Linked DNA regions of Homo sapiens: region 1 is linked to region 2. Evidence: promoter capture Hi-C in human tissues and cell types (Jung and others, 2019). All regions are on one chromosome and are shown on one strand. The core of a region is centred on a gene start or on the middle of the fragment in contact, and the rest is flanking DNA. Distances in the headings are between cores, read along the strand shown.

The links. Contacts are between HindIII fragments. The study calls those that stand out against the background at their distance.
Region 1: a fragment that was not itself captured here is called in contact with the fragment with the promoter of DEPDC1B in region 2 in 1 of the 25 tissues and cell types used here (lymphoblastoid cells).

The regions. Positions count from the first base shown.
Region 1 is chr5:61,015,964-61,018,700 of GRCh38, reverse strand. All of the region lies in intron 1 of NDUFAF2 (NADH:ubiquinone oxidoreductase complex assembly factor 2), which reads right to left. Among named protein-coding and RNA genes, the nearest start is that of NDUFAF2, 72 kb to the right of the region's middle. The HindIII fragment of the contact is 4,704 bases long and covers 1-2,737 here.
Region 2 is chr5:60,698,564-60,701,466 of GRCh38, reverse strand. It overlaps DEPDC1B (DEP domain containing 1B), which reads left to right and starts at 1,301. Exons shown (of 11, transcript NM_018369.3): 1 at 1,301-1,421. The coding sequence starts at 1,374. LOC124900982 (a long non-coding RNA gene) reads right to left here and starts at 1,227. Exons shown (of 2, transcript XR_007058779.1): 1 at 1,126-1,227. The HindIII fragment of the contact is 4,370 bases long and covers 1-2,903 here.

The DNA.
Region 1 (2,737 bases), core at 193-2,692, 320 kb before region 2:
AAATTTAAGAACACTACAAACTACATTTTATTATAAATGCATAAATACATCTCATGTTCTAAGTGGTAAACTGGTATTGAATAAATAAAAATACATTTTATTGCCATTTATATAGCTTAAAATACTTATGTTAAATTCTAATTTGTTAATTAAAACATTAATAAAATTTGATGAACTTAAACCAGTGGTATAATGATAAATGTTTAATAATCTTCTGGGCACAGTTCCAACATAAATACTGATTGGATTAAACTTATTTGAATATTGGAAGACTGTTTCCTTAATTTTTGTGAAATTCAGAATATAATGACTATAGACACGACATGCATTAACATTTTCTCTATCACTTCCTTAAGCACAATCAACAAAAGAATAAATTAAGCCCTGATTTGTAGCATTTGCCAATTCCTGTGGTTTAAATAAATACTCTTTTATGGCTAAGTTCAGGCTCTAACATGATGTCACTAAATGTGAAGTTAGGAAGACACACCCGGTAGCCAGCCATTATATATTATTTTACCATATAAATATGATAGGCATAAATAACCTCAAGAGCATAGATAACAGTAAAATGTAGTAAGCTAATTAGAAAGTACTGAGTTTTAAGTATTTACTACCTTTGTATGTACTTATAATTAAATAAGTTAATATGAGGATGCAGTGGCTCACGCCTGTAATCCCAGCACTCTGGGAGGCCGAGGTGGGCGAATCACTTGAGGTCAGGAGTTCAAGATCAGCCTGGCCAACATGGCAAAACCCCATCTCTACTAAAAATACAAAAAAATTAGCTGGGTGTGGTGACGCATGCCTGTCATCCCAGTTACTCGGGAGGCTGAGGCACAAGAATCTCTTGAACCTGGGAGGTGGAGGTTGCAGTGAGCCGAGGTCAAGCCACTGTATTCCAGCCTGGGCAACAGAGTGAGACTCCATCGCAAAAAAAAACATAAATAAATAAATACAAAGAGACAGGGTCTCCCCTGTGTTGCCCAGGCTAAACTCAAACTCCTGCGCTCAAGCAATCCTCTACTCCTGCCTGTGTGTTTCACAGAGTTGAGACTATAGGCACATACCACCCTGCCCAGCTACTTCAATTTTTACTAATGTTTATATTTAACAACTAGTTTACAAAATTTCCAATCAGTTCTAACGGGCTGGTGCAAGCTGGCTCCACCACACCACTGAAAACCCACACTTTTGCTTTCTGAAATTTTACATAATGAAATTTCACATAAAATCATACATTCATTTTTTTGTCTCAAACATTCTACAAAGTTATCTAATTTAGCAAAAGTCAATTAATTAAAAAAAAAAGTGTGCCCAAAGAAAACCCGAATCAATAATCTATTTGTTTACATTTTTAGTTCAAAGCTTCTACAAAGATTTTTAAATTTAGATTAATACAGAAAGGACTCCCATGCTTAATTCTCTGAGTCTGAGGTGTTTATTTTGCCCTAATATACCCTGTCAACATAACATCAGTATGAATTTGTCTTATTCCAAAATCATCTTATTAGGACATAATCAGTTATTTTAGAACTTACTACCTATTGTAAGCTGTTTGACGCCTACCTCTATCTCATTCGAATAGAAAAAAGCAAGAGTGAAAAGTAGAGAAAGGAATATGCTTTTGATTTGAGGCAAATGTTGAGTTTAAAAATGAAGAAGAGAAAACGAGTACAGTAAGGGACTTGAGCATCCTCAGATTTTGGAATCCTTGTGAAGCCTGGAACCAATCCCCTGAGAATACTAAGGATGACTACTTTCTTCGGGATAGGCCTGATCTTACCAAGTGTGGCCAGGCACCAGGTGCTGGATATCCCAGATACATCAAGGGTACAATGAGAGGTCAAGGTTACACAGGCACGAACAACCTACCAATCCTTTAAACTGAGACTCAATTATTATCGAGATTTATAAGCCATGTTGATGCCTAAAACTACAAGCTTTGACCACTTTACATGACATTCAGATGATTAAAAAACAGAGGCACTTGATCTGGGATCCTCAGGCTTTGGGGAGAGAACTGTTTCACAGACTCCTACCACAATAGCGGAGGACAGCATAGTAATTACTCAAGCATTTATCTCCACCTTAAGAAATATACTCTGTCAAGACAATATATTAGTGTGGTAGAAGGCAAAATTAGTGAAAAAAGAAGAAAGCTTCAAATTCCCTATTGACAGTTATCTCATAGTTTTCCAACCACATAGTTATTTACCAGCTTTCATGCTACATGGCTGCCACCTACCAGAAATGCATTATAATTTCAATACGCATACAATGAAAGCAATCATCCAACAGGATTTCTTTGAAACTAGCCTTATGTCCCCCAATATATAGTTTTGTAATTTCAGTCTTTTGCTTTTTCATCTTATATAACATACCACTCCCTTCCTCTGCCGCCTTTGGTCCTTTTTGAATTTTATATAAAAAGGGTGCCAAATATATATGTGTCTATAATACTTTTAAATCCCAAAGGTAAATCATTTTACCTCTGTATATATATATTTTTTTTTTAGATAGAGTCTTGCTCTGTTGCCAGGCTGGAATGCAATGGCGTGATCTTGGCTTACTGCAACCTCTGCCTCCTGGGTTCAAGCGATTCTCCTGCCTCAGCCTCCTGAGTAGCTGGGATTGAAGGCGTGCACCACCACGCCCAGCTAATTTTTGTATTTTTTGTAGAGACAGGGTTTCACCATGTTGGCCAGGATGGTCTCGATCTCTTGACCTTGTGATC
Region 2 (2,903 bases), core at 52-2,551:
AATACTTGCCTTGGTCTCTCCTTTTGCCTTATGCCCCTCAGTCGAACTCTTTCTTCTGAGGAGTCAAGAATTGAGGTTGCTGCAGATCTGTAGGAATTCACTGCCTGTAACATACTTTGGGGCCGTGTCTCGGATATGGGCAGCTGCTAACATATTTTGGTGCCCTGTGACTCGAGTTAACTTCCACAGCTCACAAAGGCAGTAACATTTTCTAGGGAGTCACTAGAAGATATATGTAAAAAATCTCCTATATCTCCTAGTGGAAGATAGGGTTACTTCGTTAAGAATGTTTATTCAGGTCCACTGCAGCCTTCAATTCCAAGCCTTTGGTGATAAAGGCTATTTTCTCACCGTGGTAGGGAGAGGATGCCCATCCCAGAGAAATCTTTGTGGCCTGCTGCATCGAAGAGGCAGGTCAGCTTGCCCTTTCTGAAACTACCATTTCTCCAATGTTTTCCGCTCGAAATAATCAATATACCAATTAGGCATATTTTGGAATGGCACACCTTCACTCCTTCAACGTCTTGTCCTGGGTACTTACCGAGATGACCAAATTTGAGTAGGTGTACAGAGTCCTAAGTATATGGAGTTACTTCATTTGTCCCTCTGAAAGATTGCAAATCGGACTAGCAATTCCCAGGGGGAAAATTCTAAGCAGTCAAAAAAGGACTCACAACCCTATTGCCGAGGACTAAAAGTATCAGCCCAATACAAAACATAGAACTCAAATTAAAGGGGAAAAGACTATCATGAGAACAAACAGAAGAGGAATCGGGGCTCCCTTCCCGCTCTTTATTGCCCTTAACACACTGTCTACGCTCCTTGTGCTCTCTATCCCGTTTTTAAATGTCCCTACACTGGTAAAAGCTGTCGCCTCGCTTCATTTCACTACCGCTTCTCCCAGCGTTAGCAGCACCTCCAGGCTCACAGTGCACTTGGTAGGGAGGACAGGTATTTATCCACGCGGCCCAAAGCTGGGTTTCGGTCGCTGGATAACACCTATTATTGACCCTTTTGTAGAGATAGCGTTGCGTGTGTTTGTGTTGCGCGGACGCAGAAATCTGGGAAGGGCGCTGCACAGCGTTTTCCAGCGCTGGGGAGACGCCCCCGGCCCCTTAGTCGCACCTGCCTAGGTGTGCTCGCACGGTGGGACCAGGGTGGGCAACAGATTTCGCCCCGGGCAAGTTCGCACGCGGAGCTCCCAGCGCCGCGGGTCTCGGAGAAGACGCCTGCCTCCCCGCGCATTTCCGGTGACGTGCTGCCGCGCCGCCCAATCAGCGCCCGCAGCCCGCGGGCTTGGGATTCAAACTGCTGCTCCTCCGGCTGGCGGGGATCAGCGCTGGCGCGGCTGCGGCCGCTGCTGCCTACGCGCCATGGAGCATCGCATCGTGGGGCCCGGGCCGTACCGAGCTACCAGGCTGGTGAGTGAGTGTGCTGGGGCCTGGGCGGAGCACCCGGTGCCGCGAGCCCCCACTCAGCGCGCGGACAGAGTGCTTGTCAGTCTTCGCTTCCGCAGGCCAGCGGGGCTCGGGTGTGGAGCATTTCAGCTGGGACTACTGGGGCTGCCTTTTAGTGGACGAGCCTCAAAGAAAGGCTAACGGGGCCCAGAGCTCAGCCGGCCGGGGGTTAGTGCAGCTTTGTCCATGAGATGTTGACTGGGTTCTCGGCAGTAGATGGCGCCTCTCTGTTTAAAGACCCCAAGACCAGGCTGTTCCCTGCCTTTTGTCCTCTGGAATCTAACCGACCCGGTCGGTAACCTGAGGGGCCACCACGTACCCCGTAACGCTCAGCGTTCGCGGCAGTCCAGGCAGGGCGTGTCTCCTTCCTGAGTGACACCTGATGATACCTGACGGGGTATTCGAATAAACGGTGCCCAGAACAGAGGGGCATCGCGCTGGCCGCATTTCCGGCCCCTGGCGTTTCTGTTTCTGTCAGCACCGATCCAGATGAAGAGCTGGCCAGGACAGATGTTTTAGGAGAGTCTTTGCCGACTCTGAGTTCCTGTTTTTTTTTTTTTTTTTTTCTGGGAGAAAAGCTTTGGTATTGAGGTGTACTTGGTCTGCTTTGACTTGGAACAATAAAGGGTGACAGTTTGGTAATGTCTGTGGCAAGTTTTTAGAGGACTTTCTGTGGAAGTGTAATGGTAATTTGGGAGGACAGTAACTTGCTCCTTGGTCTGCCGACCTCTCTGGCCACATTTAACATGGGAATTACTCTCATAGTTCCATGCATTATAATGAATACACAGGAAAAGATGGGAACTAACATCCAAACTCTTACTCAGCTAGACTCATGGAAGAGGTGAGGATGCTGGGATACAGATAATGTAAATAGAGTTTCCTTTTCTTTCCAAAGCCAGCCACACACTATACCAGTAAGTCAAGCCAGAGCTGAGAAGGCCAGCTTCTGGAAGAGAAATCATAGTTGGGGCTGATGGGTCTTTACTTTTTAAATTTGGCTCATAGATCGCTTTGAGAATCTGATGAAGATTAAGGATCTTCTTCACAGAAAACTGCACATGGCACATACTCATGAAATTTTACATGATTTAAGGGGATGGATCGCTTGAGGTCAGGAGTTCGAGACCAGCCTGGCCAACACAGCAAAACCCCGTCTGTACTAAAAATACAAAAATTAGCTGGGCATGGTGGCATGCGCCTATAGTCTCAGCTACTCAGGAGGCTGAGGCAGGAGAATCTCTTGAACCTGGGAGGCAGAGGTTGCAGTGAGCTGAGATCGCGCCATTGCACTCCAGCCTGGGCAACGAGCGAAACTCCATCTCAAAAAAAAAAAAAAATAATAAGGAGATTGGGAGAGTCTGTGACATTGTTTTATTTGGCATAAAGACAAGCATTTTATTTGCTCATCCTTTGGATCAGTAATCTGGGCTAGACTCATGTCAA